2 separate regions of the Homo sapiens genome follow, and region 1 is linked to region 2. Evidence: promoter capture Hi-C in 16 types of primary human blood cells and fetal thymus (Javierre and others, 2016). All regions are on one chromosome and are shown on one strand. Each heading gives the region's core, a stretch centred on a gene start or on the middle of the fragment in contact. The rest is flanking DNA. Distances are from core to core; before and after follow the strand shown. Region 1 holds the start of FAM204A (family with sequence similarity 204 member A). Region 2 holds the start of CCDC186 (coiled-coil domain containing 186).

The links. Contacts are between HindIII fragments. The CHiCAGO score rates a contact against its expected background, and 5 or more counts as called.
Region 1: the fragment with the promoter of FAM204A here is called in contact with the fragment with the promoter of CCDC186 in region 2 in 1 of 17 cell types (naive CD8 T cells); the score reaches 5.1 in naive CD8 T cells.

Annotation. Positions count from the first base shown.
Region 1 is chr10:118,338,593-118,343,984 of GRCh38, reverse strand. FAM204A (family with sequence similarity 204 member A) reads left to right here and starts at 1,661. Exons shown (of 9, transcript NM_022063.3): 1 at 1,661-1,715; 2 at 2,058-2,258. RefSeq lists enhancers at 1,501-1,720, 1,357-1,856. The HindIII fragment of the contact is 7,280 bases long and covers 1-4,359 here.
Region 2 is chr10:114,169,837-114,175,692 of GRCh38, reverse strand. It overlaps CCDC186 (coiled-coil domain containing 186), which reads left to right and starts at 1,490. Exons shown (of 16, transcript NM_018017.4): 1 at 1,490-1,678. It overlaps MIR2110 (microRNA 2110), which reads left to right and starts at 1,514; the gene lies at 1,514-1,588. It also overlaps a transcript of TDRD1 not described here. RefSeq lists a silencer at 1,155-1,424 and enhancers at 1,485-1,684, 1,280-1,808. The HindIII fragment of the contact is 5,809 bases long and covers 1-5,390 here.

The DNA.
Region 1 (5,392 bases), core at 412-2,911, 4.2 Mb before region 2:
CCCAGATGAAGAGCAATTAAGAAGCCTAATGCAGTTACAACAGCACTCTCAGGCACACCTTCTTGTTACCTGTTTAACTTTTTAAAGATTTGGATTCAAGGAAAATCCTACTGAGAAGCTGAACAGATTTGGCCAAAATAGTTTTACACAGATCCTTAACTCATTCAGCCTTGCTTCTACTCTAGAATCAGAGAATGTGAACAGGAAGAGGGACCTCGGCGATCCAAACTTGCTGATTCAGGTTTTACTATGATTCTGGGGTTATAGAAAACTGCTCTCTAAACTTGGCGCATCTTCTGGAAGATGTTGGAGGTGAGGTGGTTTAGTGGATAGTTAATAGGCTTAACCATCTGTTGATGTGAAATTGAGATATATTACTGAGTGCAATGCAAAATTTTATACACATTTAGCTTGCTTTGAAGAAAGACATTATTGGTAATGTTAACAGCAAAAAACAGCTGAGATTGAAAATTAGCGTGGGCTAGGTAACATGTTAAAGTCTTTATGTGTACAGTAGCCTCCCTTATCCGCAGGGAATACCTTCCAAGACTCCCCGGTAGATGCCTGAATCCTGGAATAATGGCGAACCCCACATATAGTTTTTCAATCTGATAACCAAGATGGCTACTAAGTGACTAAGAACCTGGTAGCCTAACAGCATGCATGGACAAAGCGATGATTCACACTGCAGATTTCATCAGGATATCCAGAATGGGCTTGCAATGAAACATTTGAATTGCTTATTTCTGGAATTTTTTACTTAATGTGTTTGGACCTTGGTTGACCCCAGGTAACTGAAATCAGGCTAAGAGAAGCCACAGATGAGGGAAGCCTACTGTATTTTCTTTTCTTTTCTTTTTTTGAAATAGGGTCTGGTTCTGTTGCCCAGGCTTTTCTTATATAATCATCACAAAATTAGCAAATAGGTACACTTAATGTTATTCTTATTATAAAACAGTATTTCGGAAAATGCAAATATTTCTAAAATAGCCCTATTCCCATCCCTATCCATAGGGTATTTTATCCTCTTCGCAGTGCTTTTCTCTCTCTTTTTTTTCCCCTTATTTTCTATGTTCCCCAAGCACCCCCTTCTGGGCATAACACAGTGCCTGCCACAAATAAGAAAAAAAGAAGTTCGGTAAACTTTTGGTCCAGTCAGTGAAGCACCTTGGACCCCATCACCAGACGGTAGGCGCCAAGAGAGCAAGAGTCAGCATGTTTTCTGCTAACCAGAGATTAGCACGATGCCTGGTACAAAGTAGGCGCCCAATAAATAGGTGAAGAAAGAAAAAAAATTAAAAAAAAGGAAGAGAGTGAGGGGAAAGGATGAATGAATGAAGACGTTTGCAGAGGGGCCTAGAAAGAAAGCACTCTGCAAGATTCTCCCTCCTGGTGGCATCAACTCTCAGTTCAAGGTCTATGTCAGCCCTTTCCTTGCCCAGACGCATTGGCCTACAGCAGGGAATGAAGAAAGAACAAAGTCTTTAAAAATGTTCAGAAGAAAGAGAAAACGGCAAGATAAAAGAGAGAAAAAAAAGAAAGAAAGGAACCACCTCCTTCGGGCGGACTAAAAAGGGAAGCCCCAGGAGGCCGGTTGCTAAGGCGACCCTAGGGCCAGAACGGCCCCAGCCCATTGGTTGAGACGCAGGAGCCAATGAGAAGGCGCGATGTTGACGGGGTCCTAAGATGGCTGCTGGGCGACCACTTCCTGACAGGTGAGTACGGCTTATGGAGGGTTGGTTACCCGCCGGTTCGGGCTCCGGCATGATGAGTCTGGGAGGGCCTCTTGTGGGCAGCCGAGGGAGGCGGCATGGGCGGCCTCATAGCTCCTCGGCCGAGCCTCCCGGAGCAGGCTAGAAAAGCCCCCGGCCCGGGGCCGCGGAAGCGACGGCGGGGCCGCCCTCAGCCTTCCTCGAAAGGGGCGTCGCAGCGGCCTCCCCAGCCTGTTATGTGGAGGGGGTTCTCCGTCCCACCCAGGTCAAAGTGAGAGGGGATTGAGGAGGCTGTCGATAGGGAAAACAGGCTCACGTTTACAGTTGCTGTATTCCGGAAAACAGCTCCAGTTAATGGGACTGCCAGCAGGCTAGACATCCTTCGCCGGAATGTGCAGCGCTTAGTTCTGTGCCCGGGAGGGGCTTCTCTCTCTTTTGGGATTGGAGTGTGGCATTGCCGCCAGAAAGCCTGCAGAATTCCGGGTTGTGCAGCCAAGCAGGAACGGTGTACCTTTCTAGACCCATCCTCTTGCAATCTTGGACCCTGTAAGTATTCTCACAGCGGAATCGACTTAAAATGAGCCTTGAACTGTTAACTTGGTTTATTGTCTTTCCATGCAGGATCTTGGGTCTGGGAAAATGTTTTCCAGGCCTCAAGTAAACGAACACTCTCTTTAATTAAAACAGTTGAATACATGCAAAATCTTGCTAAATAAGTAGTTTTTCTGGATTCGCTCTCAGGCCTGTAATTCAGTTGTCCTTTCTGTACCTTTTTTGAGAAAAGGAACACATTCATTTCATAAAAGTAAATAGGATATTTACGTTAATGTTGATGTTAACATGCTTGAAAATAGTAACTATTTTTAAGTCACAGACTCTGATTATGATGTAAATTACAATCTTCAGATTGTTAAATAATTGTGGCTTATAATTAGTATACAAGTGAAATTAATTTTAGATCAGACGAAGTTCAGGCTTCTGGAATTATTTCTAATCAAATACAAAATATAGGAAATAAGACAGCCTTATACGATGAAAATGGAATTTAAATTCTGGAATAGAGATGGAAAACATTTACCCATCGAGCTGCTCAAATATATCTTTTGGGTTTTGATTATAAGCAGCTGTCTGGTTGTCCAGAAAATATGACATTATTACTCAAACCTCTGACTGTGACTTTGACTTTGATGTATGCAACTTAGTATAGCATCTTGCATAGCTTTCTGTACTCAAAAAGTACAGAAAAAAATTCTTAACCAAATTTAACAAGTCTGTAATTATAGGCTAAGATCATTCTCAGCCCCAGTCGCAAATCCTTGTCCCCGCTTACAACTCTGCTCTGTAAAATTCATAATCTAAAGCCATGGGGCTATTTTTGTAAAACAAATGGATCAGAATGCATTAGGCAAGTCAGTTATCCCATCTGTAAATTGGGGGCGGGGCGGGTAGGGGAGGGGCTGATATAGATAGTAATTCCTAGTGGAAGGGTTGTTGTGAAGATTAGTGGAAAACCAAGGCCTGCCACACTGTTTGTATGCCATGTGCAGCAGTGACTTGCTTTGTTTCCCCTTTCTGGTTCTAGTGTTTCCTGTTGTAACTAGGGTTCCTTCCCCTTCTCAGTGTCCTGAAGTGTACAGAGTTTCTCTGAAAACATCCTCTTGGCTGAGTTGCTAGGTAGAGGAGAGAAACCTTATCTACTGGATACTGGGCTCTAATCAGGATTGCAGTGCTAGAGAGAATGGAGTGATACATCCAGGAGTGAGGTGACTCTGGGCATTTAGGGCACTTATAATATCAAAATCATAAAGAGGCATTTTAGAGCTGTAAGACATCTCAGAGATCATTTGATCAAACCTTTATTTTATAGCTTAAGAATGGAGGCCCAGACAAATGCAGTGGCTTTCTCCTAATTATGTTGCTCAGGACTAGAAACCATTTTCCAACTTTGAAGACTTTTTCCCCCTGTAACCAGTGCACAATCTAGAACGGTTTTTATTATAATTTGATTTCTCCCTGGCTGCTTTATTTTGAAAGATTGTGTCTACTCAACCTTATTTATGAATGTTTTTTTCTGATAAAAATCAGACCTATAACTACCAGTGAACCTCTGATTAACATGTGAAAAATAGTGCTTCACTAAATTGGTCTTTTCCTGTAATGATGAATGGTACAGTCTTACTGAGGGGAAAAATAAAATAGTTTGGGCTTTTTGAAATTAGCTTAGAGACTCCTGTTACTATATTCATACTTAGATTAGGAACCACTGAACTGTACCCTGTTTTTGATTCATTGTTATCTGACCAAGTATGCTAAATAATAACGATGGGTGGTTTTCAAGGGCAAACAAACAAACAAACAAGAAACCCTAGTTATTCAGACTAGGACAGTATATAAATATTTTCAGTTCATGGCAAATTGTGTTAGCCCAGGACTAAAGATGTGTTCTGCATAGTACACACAGAATGTCTTGAGGATAATTGTGGGATGGAATAAATCTTAACTCTAGAGGTGGAGGGTGTGTAAAATGAAGAAAGTGATATTCAAAACCATAGAGAGAAAAAGGATTCTGAGTCATTTACATTTTCCTTGGGGCTAAAATGATTAAATTGAAAATTATTTGGGTTGCAGGGTAAAAAAAATGAAAGCTTATGAATTAATACATTGGCTGTTATATGGACTTGGCTATAATCTATGCTAAACAAATTTAAGTTTCTGTTTCTCTGATATTCCACGTTTCTGGAGACAGGCTGAGTGAATTTTCACAGTTAAAGGGTAACTTGGGATTATCTGCCTTAAAATAAAGAAATACGCTCTGAAAGGCATAAGTAAGAGACACTTATAGAGAATCATTCTCCACAGCAGCCAAAACAAGAATAACAGGAGGCCTAACATGGTGCCAGTTGGAAACTTTGTGAATGACAAGTATATGCTATGAATAGAAAGACTGTTTTGAAACATGAGTCCAAAGCAAAAGTCACTAAGCAGCCACTCCATATTGGCTGATCTGTAACTGGGCTGCTGCTTACACGGGCAACTCCATTTTGCAGGCTGCACAGTAAGTGGCAGCAGTTATCCGTGTTTATCAGTGACTGCTCAGTCTCCCTTGTATTTGTTTTTTTGAGAGTCACAGGAAAATGGCACATGACTAAAGGTTCTAAAGAGTGGAATTCAAAACCTACCTGATTTGAATTTTGCCTGGATTTAGAGGTGGATTCCACCTTTTTCAAACTATTTTAATTTTTTTTCCTTTGGGTACACTCAAGAAATTATCATACCAGGCAGATGCCACACTGAGGACAGTTTTTAATGCCACATGAGCAGGAGCTAAAAATATATAATTTTGAGAAAATTTAAAAAGCCATAAAAAATGCCTAACTACTTGAAGGCTGATTAGCAACAACAACAGCAAAAAGCATGCCTTCTTCGGGGCAACTGAGACTGCTTCCCAGAGGGAAGCATGTTTGGGTGCCCAGAGCATAGACTATCACCCTGCAGAGATGCTAAAACAGTGGTTTAGTAGGAGACCTGTGCCACTGCCCATTGGAGAGGCATACACGTTTCATGAGCAGTCACATCTAAAGTCCAGGTCAAGGAATACTTGGCTCAAAAACTGAGCAGAAACTTGCTATGTGTATAGCTGTCATTTCGTGAGGCTAGGGATTTTTGCCTGTTTTATATAC
Region 2 (5,856 bases), core at 241-2,740:
TTTTCTTCCTTGCTTTCTGCTACAAGCAATATGTCCTAGGCTATCTTGCATATTTCTTGCCCCTACTGGGAATCAGCACTTAACCTCCAAGAGAAGCCAAGGTAACTTTTTTTGGGCAATGCTCTTTAGAGATCACAATCTGGGGAATAGGAGTGTGCAATGGGTTGGTCACTGTTCTAAGAGTTTTCAGTGGACACACCTTTTTTTTCACGAAAAAAATGTACCATGAGTTAATTCTGATATTTGTAAATTCAAATATAGGATTGCAGAATTTTAATATAATGTCTTTGGTTTATATTTGTATTTCTTTTCTCTTATGGTGAAAAACTTGGTTCACAAAGATATATTTATATACTTTATACTAATTATAAATTCAGAAATATTCAGAAATAGTAATACCTATGTTATTACTGACGAGTACCGAAAACAGCTTAAGGTTTCTTCAGTTTTTTCCCCTTGGATTAATGTCTCCCTAGGAAGGCTTGGTCGATTTATTGTTTTAAAGTCAAATCATTTATTTTCTATGACAAGACACTTTAACTGCAAAATGTGCTTCAGTGTAGTACCTTCATTTAAGGAGGAGTGAGGTGCCATTACACCTCCGTGTGTGTGTTTTGCCAACAGTATCGAAGACGCTTAACAGAACAGTAGTAAGTTTTGCTTTACAAATTCTTACATTGCAGAATCGTCTGCATCAGCTATTTTCATTCATGAGATATGTGTAAGACCTAAACCAAAGAACATCGTTTCCCCGGACTGAGGAGGTTTGCGAAACCTCCAGAGACTGAACTGCTGACCTTCCTTCTCTGGGCCGGGCGAGGCAACTGTACCCAATACACTTTTTGTTGCCATGCTGCGTGCCAGGTTACTCAGCCGGGAGAGGACACTTCCTACCATCAATGCGCTCAGCTTGAAGCCAGAGACGAAGGCACCGACAGTTTATTATTAAACAATGGCAGCAGCGCCACGCTGAAGACACGAACGCGCTGTTATGGAACCCCCAGAGGTCTCCCCCATCGTAGCCTGCTCCAGCCGACTCCGCCCACGTAAGGTGCAAGGTTTCCGCATGAGAGCCGGGAAGCCACAATTTCAAATTCTCTTTTATTGCTTTATGTCCCTGACTCATGCAGGCCAAAGGGTGAGGAGGAGTAATAGCCAACAAGAGCGTCCTGCAGAAAGAAACAGGCTGCGTGGGTCCGGAGGAGCTTGAAAGGAAGAACCCGACCAAAGGGCAGGAGACCCGGCTCTCCAGGTCGCGGAGGCGTGGGTGCCCAGCCAGGCGGAGTGCGGGGCGGGGCCTCTCGGGCCGCAAGGTGGGGCCTCCTGGGCCGGGAGGTGGGAGGTGAGCTCCGCCAGCCCAGCCCACTGCAGACAGGTTACCCAGGACCTCAAGGTGTGCTGCGTCACCCCGCCCGCGCTGCGCTGATTGGTTCCTCCAGGGAGCCCCCGCCCCCTCAGCTGTAACCGGGCCGGCTTCAGTGTCGCCGCCATCTTTGTTGATGTGTCAGCTCCGCAGGGGTTTGGGGAAACGGCCGCTGAGTGAGGCGTCGGCTGTGTTTCTCACCGCGGTCTTTTCCTCCCACTCTTGGCTGGTTGGACCCCGCTATGGAAAAGTTGGCCCCTGAGCCAGAGCTCCAGCAGCCTTGTTAGGGCGTGGCCTGAGGCTTGGATAAGTGGGGTAAGTGTCTGAGGGGTACTCGGGGCACACCGGTGAGTCGCGGTGGCGGTGCGGTGGGGCTGCCAGCCTTCCGCTCCTTCCTGCACGTTCCGTGGCGGGGGCGAGGGCGAGTGCGAGGTGGAGGTCGAGGTCGAGCGGGCTCCCCGCCTGGCTCCTTTGAGGGCGCGGAGGAAGGGGAGGGCTGGGGAACGGGTTTCAAGCCCTTTCCTCTCCCTGCCTTCCTCCTTCGGTTCCGGGACCTTGGAGGTGGCAAAGAGGGGTCAGCGGGGGTCGTGGGGGCTGTGCCTCGAGAGCGTCTGAATTCGAGCCCATTGCCTGGGCTGCGTGTGAACTGCAGCCAAGCCCTACCTGCTCGAGAATCTTTCCTAGACTCAATCGCCTATTTCGTTTTTCGTCTCAAGTTGACTGTATGTGGGTGTTTTATATTTACTGTTGTGAAGACTTGTTACCCTCTTCCAAACACTTCCATTACTGTGATTCTAAGTTCCTTAGAAGTGATTCTTTGGAGTGGTGGATACTGTTCTTTATGTTGTCTTTCAAGGACGTCAAGGCATTTCATAAACCTTGGTTGGTAAGGAAGGGGTTTCAGATTTATGTCTCCATCAGTAATGAAAAATGGCAAAAACAAAACAAAAACCCTTCTACGTGTCCCTAAGTAGCAATCTTGGGAAACAGTGCAGGTGTGAGTATTGCTTAGCTGTTAACAGTTTAACAACTTCACCTAATATTCCCATCTTGATTTTGTTTAGAGGAAAAAGTCCTGGATTTCGAGTCAGAACATCTGGATTAGAATCCTACTTCTTTCACTTGATAATCTTGTTACCTGTGGAAATCAGAAGAGAGAATATAGTAAAAATACGCAGTACAGTCCCAGGTACTTGGCCGTTTTCTCTGCATGTGTGTCATGTTCCTTTGATGCCCAGCTTTTTTTTCTTCCAAAACGATAGGCCGGGTGTTGTCTTCTAAGGTGTTCAGTAAATCAGGGTTTCAAGAGGTGTGCTGGTAGTCATTCAGAAGAAATTAATCTGCTATTATCTATTTAGGTATGCTAGTTGTGGGTGTGGCTTTCCCAACTATCAAGTACACCTTAATATTTACCGAGTGTTCATCTCGTGGGAAGGATTCAGGTTCAAGAGAGATTGATAGTGAAACTGAACTATCTCTGTGTGTAATGTACACTGTTCCCTGTGTAACTTCAATTCTTTATCCAACATTACACAAATAAAAAACAGTAATGATTGGCTAGGTTCATTTTTCTCTTTTATTTCTGGTCTTTTCATGTTATTTTTAATGCAGTGAAGATATTAGATCACGAATCTTGCAGTATTAAGAATTAAAACTTTTTACAGCATAATAGGCAAACGTATGATTACTGAAGATTCTCCCTGGAAATGCATGGATTGTGTTTGTTTTTTAAAGGCCCTGTTAAATTCAGAATAACTGCATATAAACTTAAGGTTTCTTTAAACAGTGGAGATTCCATAGTGTGTCATTGGCTTTTGAGTCCTATTTATTGCTAACGGAAAGGGTTGGCTGGTGTGTATCACAGTGACCACTCTAACCTTTTAGTTCTTTCACCCATAAAGTAGAGTTGTCCTTTAATGCTATGCAGTGACAGCATAGCTAATGATTGCTTAGTATGTTCAGTTTAGAAACATCTATTTGCAGCTTTATGCTGACATCACAGAGTGAAGATAAAAGCATTGCAGTATACTGACTCCAGGAAGAGACAGTAGGTTGAAGCACAAAGCAGCTTTATTTGGAGATTTAGAAAATAATCTTTCCCTTTGAAGAAGGACTGGTAATCTGCACTAGTTTCTCAAATTCATGCAACAGTTTCGTGTTAAAGTAAGAATCCTTACCCTGAAATTTTTTTTCTTTTAGTAAAACTTAGGTTTTTCTTTTATCTCTACCTTAAAATAACTAAAGCTGGTTTTTCAATTTCTCATAAACATATCACTGAGTTTACAGTATTGCAAATGTTATACTTAGTATTCATTTTAGGGGCAGCAGTGAGATCATAGATAATTTAATCTATTGTTTCAAACTGCTTTGAACTTTCTTAGCTACTGAGATTTAAAAAATGTATTTGGGCTAAAAAGTAAGAAAAAGGAAAAATACTGAGATGAAGGGACAGTAGACACAAAGTGGAAATCAGCACCAGCATAGTTTTGATTGGATTGTGAGTGTATTTCTTATTAACATTTGTCTATCATTAAGACACTTGAACTGATAATTGTGGGATTATGTAGACTATGTAATGTCTACCGCACTTACTACATAATCCCACGGTAGACTATCAGTTCATGTTTTTAATAAAGTAGAGCATACCAAATTAACCAACTCTGGCCAAAGGTGTCTTCAAAATTTAAACATTAACCCAAACTTTTTAATGTAATGCAGGCTTATAACTTGAAAAAAAATTTTTTTTAAAGATACTAGGCTTCATTTTGTTTAGTTTTTTGAGACAAGATCTCAATCTGTCACCCAGGCTGGAGTATAGTGGTATGATCATAATTCACTGTAGCCTTGAACTCCTGGTCTCAAGCAATCCTCCTGCCTTAGCCTCCTGAGTAGCTAGGACAACAGGCACAGGCCACCATACTAATCTTTTTAATTAAAAATTATATATTATTATTTTTTATAGACCAGGTCTTGCTATGTTTCCCAGGCTGTTCTCTTAATTCCTGGCCTCATTTGATCCTCCCATCTAGGCCTCCCAAAGTGCTGGGATTACAGGTGTGAGCCACCTGTAAAGGAAGGCCTGAGAGCCTTCCTTTTTGAAAAAGGAACTATAGGTCAGATTTTTTTTTACCTACTTTATTCCTTTTCAGATTTGGAGGAAAATTAGCTGATAATACTTTTCATGTTTTCTTAGACTCATTAAAGTGCAAGTGCAATCTTCAAATTAGATTTCTGTATTAGTAGGAAGTCATTTCTGATAACTTTCTGCTTTAGTATTTTAAAGTATTTATAGGAGACATGTAAAATTACCGAGCTGATATGACATATATGGTGTAACTTGATAAGGTGAACTATGATGTGGCCACTGACCCTCTTTTTCATGGAATTTTGATGGACCATAATTTCTCTTTGTCCTGTTATCCTATCACAGGATTTGGTACTATTTGGGAGTTGGTGGAGGGTGGGGGGGTCTTGCCGCATCTATTGCTCAAGTCTTTTTTTTTAAACATCTTTGTGTGTGTGTGTGTGATATAATGCACATATCATAAAGTTCTTGCCCTGAGTCTGGATTGTAAAGCTAAACATACCCCCACAGGGATAAATAACCTTGGTCTCATAAAACAAACTTTTCAAACTGGTGAACTAAAGGAAACTTTTTTATTCTAATGCTGTTTCACTTAAACTCAGTATATTACAGTTAAATTTGTGCCAACCATGGTGGCTCACATCTGTAATCACAGCACTTTTGGGGGGTTGAGGTGAGAAGATTGCTTGATGCCAGTAGTTTGAGATCACCCTGGGCAACATAGCAAGACTCCATCTCTACAAAACATTTTTAAAAATTAGCTGGGTTTGGCGGCATGTACCTGTAGTCCCAGCTTCTTAGGAGGCTGAGGTGGGAGGATCAGTTGAGCCCAGGAATTTGAGGCTGCAAGTGACCTCTGACTGCACTCCAACCTGGGTGACAGAAAAAGACCCTGTTTCTAATAGTTTCTAATAATAAAAAGTTAGCTTTTACCCAAAAGCTTAATAGGATGTGACTACTTTAAAAATTATTTCTTTTTGTAGAACTTATTTACAGTTTTTTTTTTGAAATAGCCCTCTCAGTTTTTATCTTTTAAAAGCAGAATTTGATCTGCATAAATTCACCTTGTATGAAACTTAAGTGTCAGGTATTTTCATCATGTGAAACAACATTTTCATGTTTCATACACAAGTTCTTTTCCATCCTATTATTCTGTTTTTAAAAAGCTAAGTTAAAAATATTATCTGGGTATGGTGGCATGCACCTGTAGTCTTATCTACTTGGGAGGCTTAAGTGGGATGATTGCTTGAGCCCAGAAGTTTGAAGCTGCAGTGACCTATGATTGAGCCACTGCATTCCAGCCTGAATGACAGAATGAGACCCTGTTTCTACACATAAATAAATAAGTAGGTAGCTAGCTTTATCCAGAAAGTATCTTTTAAAGTTAATTATTTATCAAAAGTCAGTT